4 separate regions of the Homo sapiens genome follow, and regions 1, 3 and 4 are each linked to region 2. Evidence: promoter capture Hi-C in human tissues and cell types (Jung and others, 2019). All regions are on one chromosome and are shown on one strand. The core of a region is centred on a gene start or on the middle of the fragment in contact, and the rest is flanking DNA. Distances in the headings are between cores, read along the strand shown.

Region 1 (2,960 bases), core at 394-2,893, 180 kb before region 2:
ACTATGATCAAAAATATACATATAAAGGCCAGGCGTGGTGGCTCATGCCTGTAGTCCCAGCACTTTGGGAGGCTGAGGTGGGAGGATTGCTTGAGCTCAGGGGTTCAAGACCAGCCTGAGCAACATGACGAAACCCAGTCTCTACAAAAACAGAAAAGCAAAAATTAGCCATGCATGGAGGTACGCACCTGTAGTCCTAGCTACTTGGGAGGCTGAGGCAGGAGGATTGCTTTAGCCAGGAGGTAGAAGTTGCAGTGATCTGTGATCAAGCCACTGCACTCCAACCTGGGCAGCAGACCCAGACCATACCTCAAAAAAAATACATACACACACACACACGCTACTTTAAAAGTCCTACTAGTAAAATGGTACAGCCACTTTGGAAAACAGTTTGACAGTCTCTTATAAGAGTATATCTGCAACTACCATGCAAACCAACAACTGCATTTGTAAGTGCAATTATCCCAGAGAAATTAAAACTCTGTTCACACAAAAACCTATACATGAATGTACATAGCGAGTTTTATGTATAATAGCCCCAACCTGGAAATCATCCAAATGTCCTTCAACAAATAAACTCTGGTACCTCTATACCATGGGATACTGCCCAGCAATAAAAAGGAATAACATATTAATATACAAAACAACCTGGATGGATCTCAGGGGAATCATGGTAGGTTAAACAAAACTCAAAAGGTTATATACCATAGATTCCATTTATATGACATTCTTGAAATAATAATTAGAAAGACAGGGGACAGATCAGTGGTTGCCAGTGCTGTGGCTTGAATGTTTTTGTCCCTCCAAAATTCATGTGTTGGAAACTTATTCCCCAGTGCAACAGTGTTGGGTGGTGGGGTCTTTGGGAAAGTGTTTAGGTTGTGAGGGATCCACCATCAGGAATGAATTCATGTCGCTATAAAAAGGCTTGTGGGAGTGGGTTAACCTCTTTCCTGGCCTTCTGAAGGAAAGTTCATTCCTTTTTGTCCTTCTGCCTTATGCCATGTGAGGACACAGCAAGAAGGCCCTCACCAGACCAAATGCTGGTGCCATGATTTGGACTTACAGCCTCTAGAGCTGTTAGAGAATAAATTTCTTCTATTCTTTATAAACAACCTAGTCTCAGGTGTTACAGCAGCACAAAGTGGACAAAGACACAAGGGGTTGCAGATTGGGTGGGAAGGATGTCAGTGTAGCTATGAAAGGAAGCATGAGGGTGCCTTGCAGTGAAGGAGCAATTCTGTGTCCTGACTGTGGTGGTGGTTCCACAAAGCTACCCATGGTAAGACTGCATTCACAAACACAAACACACACACACACACACACACACACTCACACTCACTACATGCACAACTGGTGCTGTCTGAAGGACCTCTGTGGCTGTGGCACCGAGAATTTTCAGTCTGTGTTATTGTACTATAGTTAAGCAAGATGGAGGATGCTGGGTAATGAATACACAGGATGTCCCTGTGTATTGCCCCCTACTTCCTGTGGATCTATAATTACTTCAAAATAAAAACGTTTTTTTAAAAAATGCACTGGCGGCTGGGTGCAGTGGCTTGCGCCTGTAATCCCAGCACTTTGGGAGGCCAAGGCGGGCAGATCACGAGGTCAGGAGTTCGAAACCAGCCTGGTGAATATGGTGAAACCCCGTCTCTACAAAAAAAATACAAAAATTAGCCGGACGTGGTGGCGTGCACCTGTAGTCCCAGCTACTTGGGAGGCTGAGGCAGGAGAATTGCTGGAACCCAGGAGGTGGAGGTTGCAGTGAGCTGAGATCACGCCACTGCACTCCAGCCTGGGTGACAGAGCGAGACTTTGTCTCAAAAAAAAAAATAGAAATAAATAAATAAATAAATAAATAAATAAATAATGCAGTGGCACTAGAACGGGGGGAAAGGTGCTACTGAATCCACAGCACCTTGTTACTATAGACTTTGCCAACTAAGGAATAAGTAATGGACAGCTATTACCCTGGAGGGTGACGTGAGAGATTTTCTTATTTTTTTTTTGAGACAGAGTCTTGCTCAGTCGCCTGGGCTGGAGTGCAGTGGCACGATCTCGGCTCACTGCAAGCTCCGCCTCTCATGCCATCTCCTGCCTCAGCCTCCCGAGTAGCTGGGACTACAGGAGCCCACCACTACGCCCGGCTAATTTTTTGTATTTTTAGTAGAGACAAGGTTTCACCGTGTTAGCCAGGATGGTCTCGATCTCCTGACCTACACCCGTCTCGGCCTCCCAAAGTGCTGGGATTACAGAAGTGAGCCACCGTGCCCGGCCCCAGAGAGATTTTCTAACCTGAAAAGGGTGCGTACAAAATTATCAAGCACTGGGGATAATGTGGGGCACCCACTATGGAACTTGGGAAATGGGTGTGACCACTTTGGAAACAATTTGGCAGCACCTTGTAAAGTTAAAAATGTGCATACCTTCAGACCCAACAACCCCACTCCCAGGCACCTTGAAACTCTCACACTTTTGCACCAGAAAATAGGCACGAGGATGTTCAAAGCAGTACCATTGCCTCAATCAGTTGTGTAGCAGTTATACCAAAGACACAACACATAGCAGTGAAAAAGAATGAAGTACAACTTCCTGCCACTACACAGGTAAATTTCAATAACAGTGTTGAGCAAGAAAGTCCCAAAGTACACAAAGACATCATTTACATAAACATCAAAGACAAGAAAAAAAGGCAGCATTTAAGGCCACAAGCCCTCATGGCTGACTACAGGATCAAGATGGGCAGCTTTCACATCAGTGACAACCTCTGAGGCAAAGAGACCAGGGTAAGCCCAGAGGAGGCCTCTAGGTACCTGGTGATGATCTATGCCTCAAGTGAGCTAGCGGGTACCCAGTGTTCATTCTATTCTTTAAAATATACAGGCATGAAGTGCACTCTTTTTGTGCACTGGTCTTATGATGTGTGAAAGGATGCATGTTTCAAACAGTTATAATCA
Region 2 (2,714 bases), core at 167-2,666:
CACTCCAGCCTGGGTGACAGAGCGAGACTCCATCTCAAAAAAAAAAGAAAAGACATACAGAATCCTGGGCCCACCTCAGACCTGCTGAGTCCGAAGTTCTGGGGGAGGAGCTTGTTTTAACAGGTCCTGCTGGAGATCCTGATACAAGCCACAGCTGGAGAACTACCACCCTAGACTTATTTGGCCCTTAAGCTATCTCCAGCCTTGGAGAAACTCTACTTTAAGGTTTCATTTCATGGATAAGCAAGGAGCATGGTAGAGTGAATGAAAAAAAAAAAAAAAGCCCTAAGTTTTGACTTCTTGGTCTGGTTTCTGTGCAGGGCAGCTGAAGAGAAAAACAAAAGCTTCCCCTTTACAACCCTCTCGAGCTCAGTCCAATCCCTAAAGCAGGAACGACACCAGCATTAAGGGGTCAGGGGCAGGGACCAGCCATTTCTGGGCCTATGAGATGCAGAAATCCATGATAAATGCTTGTGAGTTAAAAGTTGTGTACTTCCTCCTGCATTGATCATTTTCAAGAAGGAAGTTACACTCAGTCATTTCTCCTTTGGTAAACAGGATCGGGTGTCAGGACAAGGTGTCAGTTCAAAAAACCTATGCTGAGTTCTGTGCAATCTCTGTCTACCTATGTTGTCTACAACTGCAGTTCCTTACAGATTTCTGAAGCCTTGCCTTCTGGTCTTCGGGGGCCCTCTAGTCTCTGCCTGTGGCCTTGTTTACCTGAGATATTGTTCTCCTCTCTCAGAAACAGGACTCTGATCACATTGGCAGCAGTGAGCAGTAATTTGGGGTTGCACATCTGCAGCAGTAAGAGAGTATAATTCGCCTTGGTCCACTGGGTGCTGTTCGCAAACCAGTACAAGATCTCTTTCATCTTCTGTTCTACTGTTTTATCCAACATTTGGTTCAAGGAGGACTTCACAACTTTCCCCTCTTTCTTGCTGAGGTTGATCCGGGACCTGTTATAGATGAAATCCTTTCCCTGTGTGGTCTGAAGGATATTTTGGAAATAGTGTAACAAATATAAGCTATTTAACTGCTTCAGAATGCCAACTAGAAACCTCCTCTGTGATATGTCATTGATCCTGCAGAACCACTCTTTGGTAGAGAAGATCTTCCAGGCTAAGACACACGTCTCACACTTCCGGCATAGAGGGATGGAATCGGTTCCCTTCTCACAACGAAAATAGGGGGCATTCTTGAGCCTTGATTCCAGGTTTTCCATGATCCTAAGATAACCAGTCCATTTTAGCCCTGCGCACTTGCAACGGCAACGCCACCAAACACTAGAGGAACGGGGGGAATGAATAAATACCCCAGTTGTGCCTTTTCTATTACAAACGTCTCCCAGAGCAAAAGTAAATGGCTGCCATGGATGGAAAGCCTATCTCTCTCAGTAACTGCCAGCAGAAGTCTGGCTTTTTGTACAGACCTCCTTGGAAACATGGCTTTACCGTAAATCTCCTAAACCTGGCACTGCTTTATGTGGAGGCAGTTGCTGTATATTCTGAAAGAGCTGGTCATCTCATTTCTAGAACAACAAGAATACTGTTAGTCAAATTTAAGTAATATGTGGACTATTACTGGTATTGCACTTTAATTATTGTTGTTATATATGGCTTCTGAATATTCATGAATATAAAATAAGATGCAAACTTCTTATGTTTATATCTGTTCAGTTACAAACTGGCTATCCCAATGATGCTAAATATGTTTATATTCATTTTCTTAAGTCATCATCAAAGTAAAACCAGAAATGTTTAATGTAAATTTAAGTTATTTAACTGCTTCACAATACTAACCAGAAATCTCACTGTAGTCAAAGGGCCCAGGCAAAACATATTGGGCAGCTCACAGAAAGAGTTTCAAAGTCATGCTGAGATAATTCTCCTACTGCAGGTAAGACTCGGTTCAAACATTGACTCTGGTACTTAGGAGCTATATGGTCTCGAGCAGGCAACCTGTCCTCTCTGAGCCTCAGTGTCTCCATCCTAGTTATGAGGATGGAGAAGATAAAGGTGGGTAATAAAAATGATAACTACCTTCTAGGATTGCATTAAATATATGAGATCAGTTGTTGCTGCTATTGTTACTGTTACTAAGTATTATTACCCTAGATAAAATCAAAAGGTTTGCAATATTGTGTGCCTTTCTAATGCCCATGTTGAAAGACCAGGCACAACCAGAGAAAGGTAATGGAGTCCATCGCTGGGGTTTTGTTGGCAATGGCAGTCACATACTAGGGTCAGAATGGGGAATAAGAATCAGGTTAAGAATGAGATCAGTTCTCACAGCTCAACCTCTTCTGTCTGAAGAGGAATCTGGAGAAAAGGCATGAGTAGATTAATATTTAATTAATCGGGAAGGCCAGACAAAGGAGGGTGGCAAAGAGAAGGGAGGCCCGAAGCAGACTCTTTGGATCTGTAAGGCGAGCACGTTACCCTAAGAAGTGCTGCAAGCTAAAAGTAGCTCTTTTTTTTTTTTCGTAATTAACTTGTTTATTTATAATTGACAGATTATAAATAGCTTGTTTTTAAAGATTTAAATAAATTAGGATTTTAATCTATGAGGCTGACATTCTTCAAGGAAGCATTTTTTTTTTTTGGAGGCAGAGTCTCGCTCTATCCCCCAGGCTGGAGGGCAGTGGTGGCATCTCGGCTCACTGCAACCTCTGCTTCCCGGGTTAAAGTGATTCTCCTGCCTCAGCCTCCCGA
Region 3 (2,835 bases), core at 133-2,632, 200 kb before region 2:
GAAAGAAGCCCTACTTTCAATTCCTTTGGGCATATATTTATGAGTGGAATTGCTGGGTGGTATTCTATGTTAAACTTTGAGGATTGGCCAAACTGTCTTCCAGAAGAGCTGCACCATTTTACATTCCCACCAGCAACGCACTAGACCCCCAGTTTCTCCACATTCTCATGAACACTTGTTATTGTCCATTTTTACATTTTTTTTTTCAGTCAGAGTTTTACTTTACAGCCCAGGCTGGAGTGCAGTGGCACGATCTGGACTCACTGCAACTTCTGCCTCCTGGGCTCAAGGGATCCTCTTGCCTCAGCCCACCAAGTAGCTGGGACCACACGTGCATGTCACACACGCAGCTAATTTTTGTATTTCTGGTAGAGATGGAGTTTCACTGTGTTGCCCAGGCTGCATTTTGACATTATTATGATAGCCGTCCTAGTAGGCGTGAAGTAGCATTTCATTGTGGTTTTGATTTGCATTTCCCTAAGGACTAGTAATGTTGAACATCTTTTCATGTAATTGTTGGCTGTTGAAGGTATGTCTACCTTCCTTGGTAGAGAAATATCCTGACCCACACATGCATAGCCACTGCCATTATCAAAATCCCCAACCAAAAGTTGTTATGCTTGTTACAACTGATGAGCCTGCATTGATACATCTCCCAAAGCACATACATTACATTAGGGTTCACGCTTGGTGTTGTATTCTATGTGTTTGGATAAACATATACTGACATGCATCCACCACTATAATGTCATACAGAGTAGTTTCACTGCCCTAAAAGTCGCCTGCATTCTCCCTATCCTTCCCTCTCTCCTCCCTAACCCTTGGCAACCACTGATCATTTTCTGTTCCCACGGTTTTGCCTTTTCCAAAATGTCATATAGCTGTAATCAAACACTTTGTAGCCTTTTCAAAAGGCTTCTTTGACTTAGTCATCTGTATTTCTGTTTCCTCCATGTGTTCATGGCTTGGTAGCTCATTTCTTTTTAGCACTGAATAATATTCCATTATCTAGATACTATGATTTATTTATTCATTCACCTACTTAAGGACATCTACCAAAGTTTTGGTAATTATGAATAAAGCTGAATTCATAATGAGTAAACATCCATGCACAGGTTTTTGTGTGGACGTAAGTTTTCAACTCCTTTGAATAAATACTCAAGAGTAACTGCTGAATCATATGGTAAGTGTAAGCTTAGTTTTTATGCTTTTTAAAAAATTATTATTTTGCTCAGTTATCAGATGGAAAGGGATTCAAATATACTTGCATCAAAGCACATTTAGATTTGTAAGAAACTTCCAAACTGTCTTCCAAAGTAGCTATACCGGCCAGGCGCGGTGGCTCACGCCTGTAATCCCAGCACTTTGGGAGGCTGAAGTGGGAGGATCACCTGAGGTCAGGAGTTTAAGACCGGCCTGATCAACATGGAGAAACCCTGTCTCTACTAAAAATACAAAAATTAGCTGGGCCTGGGGCACGAGCCTGTAGTCGTAGTTACTCAGGAGACTGAGGCACAAGAATCATTTGAATCCAGAAGGTGGAGGTTGCAGTGAGCTGAGATTGCGCCACTGCATTCCAGCCTGGGCGACAGAGCAAGACTCCGTCTCAAAAAACAAACAAACAAACAAAAAACAACAGGCCGGTGCGGTGGCTCACTCCTGTAATCCCAGCACTTTGGGAGGCCAAGGCAGGTGGATCACCTGAGGTCGGGAGTTGGAGACCAGCCTGGCCAAGATGGTGAAACCTCTTCTCTACTAAAAATACAAAAATTAGCTGGGCATGGTGGCACATGCCTGTAATCCCAGCTACTCAGGACGCTGAGGCAGAATTGCTTGAACCAGGACCCGGGAGGCAGAGGTAGCAATGAGCAAGATCGTGCCACTGCACTTCAGCCTGGGCTACAGAGTGAGACTCTGTCTCAAAACAACAACAACAACAACAACAACAACAAAGTAGCTATACCATTTTGCATTCCCACCAGCAATGAATGAGAGTTCCTGTTGCTCCACATCCTCCCCAGCATTTGGCGTTGTCAGTGTTCTGGATTTTGGCCACTCTAATGGGCTTGCGGTGGTGTCTCTCTGTTGTTTGAATTTGCAATTCCATGATGACATATAATGTTGAGCATCTCACATGCTTATCTGCCATCTTTATATTTTATTCGATGATATGTCTGATCAGATCTTTCACACATTTTAAAATTGTTTTCTTATTTAATTTTTTTTCTTTTGCTTTGTTATTGTTGTTTTGGTTTTTTGACAGGGTCCTGCTCTGTTGCCCAGGCTGGAGTGCAGTGATGTGATCTCAGCTCACTGCAACCTGCACCTCCTGGGCTCAAGCAATCCTTCTACCTCAGCCTCCCAAGTAGCTGGGACTACAGGCGCCTGCCACCACGCCCAGCTAATTTTTTATATTTTCAGTAGAGATGGGGTTTCACCGTGTTAGCCAGGATGGTCTCGATCTCCTGACCTCGTGATCTGCCTGCCTCGGCCTCCCAAAGTGCTGGGATTACAGGCATGAGCCGCAGCACGTGGCCAGTTCTTTCTATATTTTGAACAACACTTCTTTATCAGATATGTCTTTGGGAACTATTTTCTCCCAGTCTGTGTCTTTTCATTCTCTTGACACTGTCTTTTGCAGAGCAGAATTTTTTTTTTTTTTTTTTTGAGATGGGGTCTCACTCTGTCACCAGGGTTGAAGTGCAGTGGCTCAATCTCGGCTCACTGTAACCTCTTCCTCCCTAGCTGAAGCCATCCTCCCACATCAGCACCCCTAGGTAGCTGGGACCACAGGCATGCACCACCATGCCCAGCTAATTTTTTTTTTTCATATCT
Region 4 (3,129 bases), core at 426-2,925, 160 kb before region 2:
ACAGAGCAAGAACCTGTCTCAAGGAAAAAAAAGTATCAAAACATTGTCACTTCTGCTTCCACTAGGAAGGATTATTAATACTCCTTCTGCCACCCACAACTAAAACCCCTGGATGTTACATACAAACAAAAATGAGAAGACTCTGGCCAGGCGCAGTGGCTCATGCCTGTAATCCTAGCACTCTGGGAGGCTGAGGCAGGCAGATCACGAGGTCAGGAGATAGAGACCATCCTTGCTAACATGGTGAAACTGTCTCCACTAAAAATACAAAAATTAGCCAGGCATAGTGGCAGACGCCTGTAGTCCCAGCTACTCGGGAGGCTGAGGCAGGAGAATGGCATGAACCCGGGAGGCGGAGTTTGCAGTGAGCCAAGATCGTGCCACTGCACTCCAGCCTGGGTGACAGAGCGAGATTCCGTCTCAAAAAAAAATGAGAAGACACTAAAAGGTAGAGAGAAGGCAGACTAGCAAGGGACCTCAGGACCTGAGCAACGTCACGGTGGTGGCTTCCTTGGGCATTCCTTTTGCCTTATTATCCCAGATTTGTAGCTGGAGAAGAAGCGACCCAAAAATGCCAGTGGGCAAAGACAAGAAAAGCTCCAACAAAGGTCGGCTCTCCCTAGTCAAAGGACTAAGAAAAGGGCAACCTAGTGAGTGAGAAAATATTTAGACAATAACTGCCTTACTCTAGCCACACAGGCAGGAAAGCCACAGCCCACGTTTCCGCCACATTTCCGCCGCATGAGTAAAGGTTGAGGGGTGAGCCTGTACTTCCTGGCTTGTCAGGCTATAATGAGGCACCCCAAACCCAATGGGGTGGTTTCACAGAAGGCCAAACAGGGAGCTGGGACTTTCACCCTCACTCAGCAGTAAGGAGCAACTGCCAGAGTCAGTGGAGAGTGAAATCTGGACTTCTACCCCCAACTCAGCAGTAAAGAGGTGCCCCTCCCCTCTCCATTGCAGTGGTATCAGAGGCAGCCTGGTGGAGTCAGGAATTCCACCACCACCCAATGAGAATGATGCTACTTTTCCTTGGCGTCAGCGGAGGACATGGAGGGAGCATTTCCACCCATGAGTAACAAGGACCACCTTAGGTGGTCCACACAAGGCCTGGTGGTGAATCTCGACTTCTACCCTTACCTAGCAGAAACGAGCCCCAACACCACCACTTTCCCTGCCAGAGTCCTGAGAAGCCAGCAAAATCAGAAGGCCTAAATGAGACCCAGAGTCTCACACACAATATCTAAAAGTCCAGATTCCAATCAGAAGCCACTCGCCACACTAAAGGCCAGTGAAATCTCAATATGAATGAAAAAAGACAATTAACAGATGCCAACACCAAGATGACAGACATGCTGAAACTGTATAACAAAGATTTTAGAGCAGCCATCAGAAAAGTGCTACAAGCAGCAATTATGAGCATGTGTGAAATAAAAAACAAGAAGTCTAAACAAAGAAAGTATTGACAAAAAAATAGAAGGTATAAAAAAAGACCCAAGGCCAGGCGTAGTGTCTCATGACTGTAATTCCAGTACTTTGGGAGGCCGAGGCAGGCAGATCACTTGAGGCCAGGAGTTTGAAACCAGCCTGGCCAACATGGCAAAACCCCGTCTCTACTAAAAATACAAAATTAGCAGCCAGGCACGGTGGCTCACGCCTGTAATCCCAGCAGTCTGGGAGGCTGAGGCGGGCAGATCACGAGGTCAGAAGTTCAAGACCAGCCTGACCAACATGGTGAAACCCCATCTCTACTAAAAATACAAAAATTAGCCGGGCGTGGTGGCAGATGCCTGTAATCCCAGCTCCTCAGGAGGCTGAGGCATAAGGATCACTTGAACCCAGGGAGCGGAGGTTGCAGTGAGCTGTGATAACACCACTGTACTCCAGCCTGGGCAACAGAGCGAGACTCAGTCTCAAAAAAAGAGAACCAAAAACTTATTTTAGAACTTAAAAAATACAATAACCAAATTAAAAAGCTCAGTTGGGCTGGGGGTGGTGGCTCACACCTGTAATCCCAGCACTTTAGAGAAGCTGAGGTGGGCAGATCACTTGAGCTCAGGAGTTCAAGACCAGCCTGGGCAATATGGTAAAATCCCCGTCTCTACCAAAAATACCAAAAATAAATTCGCAAGACACGGTGGCATGCACCTGTAGTCCCAGCTTCTTGGGAGGCGGATGTGGGAGGATTGCTTGAGCCTAGGAGGCAGAGGTTGCAGTGAGCTGTGATCATACCACTACACTCCAGCCTGGGCAACAGAGGTGAGACCCTGTCTCAAAAAAAAAAAAAAAAAAAAAAAAAACTCAGTTGGATATACTCAACAGCAGAATGGAAGTTACAGTGAAAATAATAATGGAGGTCAAGGAAAGAATCAGTGAACTGGAAGACAGACAACAGAAATTAGCCAATTTGGACAACAGAGAGAACAATGGCTGTGGCAGGGCATGGTGGCATGTGCTTGTAGTTTCAGCTACTCTGGAGGCTAAGATGGGAGAATCACTTGAGCCCAGGGGTTCAAGACCAGCCTGAGTAACATAGTGAGACCCACTAAAAAATAAAAATATAAAAGACTAGAAAATAAAAATAAACAGAATCCCATGGACCTGTAACAAAAGATCAGCTGGGCACGGTGGCTCACACCTGTAATCCCAGCACTTTGGGAGGCCAAGGTGGGTGGATCACCTGAGGTCGGAAGTTCAAGACCAGCCTGACCAACATGGAGAAACCCCGTCTCTACTAAATATACAAAAGTAGCTGGGCGTGGTGGTGCATGCCTGTAATCCCAGCTACTTGGGAGGCTGAGGCAGGAGAATCGCTTGAACCCAAGAGGCAGAGGTTGCAACGGTGAGCCAAGATCACGCCATTGCACTCCAGCCTGGGCAACAAGAATGAAACTCCATCTCAAACAAACAAACAAACAAACAAACAAACAAACACCTGACATTTATGTCATAAGAGTCCCAGAAAAAGAGGAGAAAGACGGTAGGACTAAAAAAGTACTCAAAAAGACAATGGCTGAAAGCTTCCCAAATTGGTCAGAGACATAAACCCACAGCTTCAAGAAGTCCAGCAAACACCAAACAGGATAAACCCAAAGCAATCTCAAGATATATCATAATTAAACTTTTGAA

What was found. Contacts are between HindIII fragments. The study calls those that stand out against the background at their distance.
Region 1: a contact is called between a fragment that was not itself captured here and the fragment with the promoter of FBXW10 in region 2, in 3 of the 25 tissues and cell types used here (lymphoblastoid cells, mesenchymal stem cells and mesendoderm cells).
Region 3: a contact is called between a fragment that was not itself captured here and the fragment with the promoter of FBXW10 in region 2, in 5 of the 25 tissues and cell types used here (adrenal gland, dorsolateral prefrontal cortex, lymphoblastoid cells and 2 more).
Region 4: a contact is called between a fragment that was not itself captured here and the fragment with the promoter of FBXW10 in region 2, in 2 of the 25 tissues and cell types used here (dorsolateral prefrontal cortex and mesenchymal stem cells).

Annotation. Positions count from the first base shown.
Region 1 is chr17:18,925,150-18,928,109 of GRCh38, reverse strand. All of the region lies in intron 10 of PRPSAP2 (phosphoribosyl pyrophosphate synthetase associated protein 2), which reads right to left. Among named protein-coding and RNA genes, the nearest start is that of SLC5A10, 26 kb to the left of the region's middle. The HindIII fragment of the contact is 7,921 bases long and covers 1-2,960 here.
Region 2 is chr17:18,742,756-18,745,469 of GRCh38, reverse strand. FBXW10 (F-box and WD repeat domain containing 10) reads right to left here and starts at 1,416. Exons shown (of 14, transcript NM_001267585.2): 1 at 721-1,416. The coding sequence starts at 1,225. The HindIII fragment of the contact is 4,270 bases long and covers 1-2,714 here.
Region 3 is chr17:18,942,459-18,945,293 of GRCh38, reverse strand. LOC124904114 (small nucleolar RNA MBII-202) reads right to left here and starts at 1,295; the gene lies at 1,221-1,295. The HindIII fragment of the contact is 4,914 bases long and covers 1-2,835 here.
Region 4 is chr17:18,898,691-18,901,819 of GRCh38, reverse strand. The region is part of intron 8 of PRPSAP2 (phosphoribosyl pyrophosphate synthetase associated protein 2); the gene reads right to left. Among named protein-coding and RNA genes, the nearest start is that of PRPSAP2, 42 kb to the right of the region's middle. RefSeq lists an enhancer at 1,088-1,137. The HindIII fragment of the contact is 5,398 bases long and covers 1-3,129 here.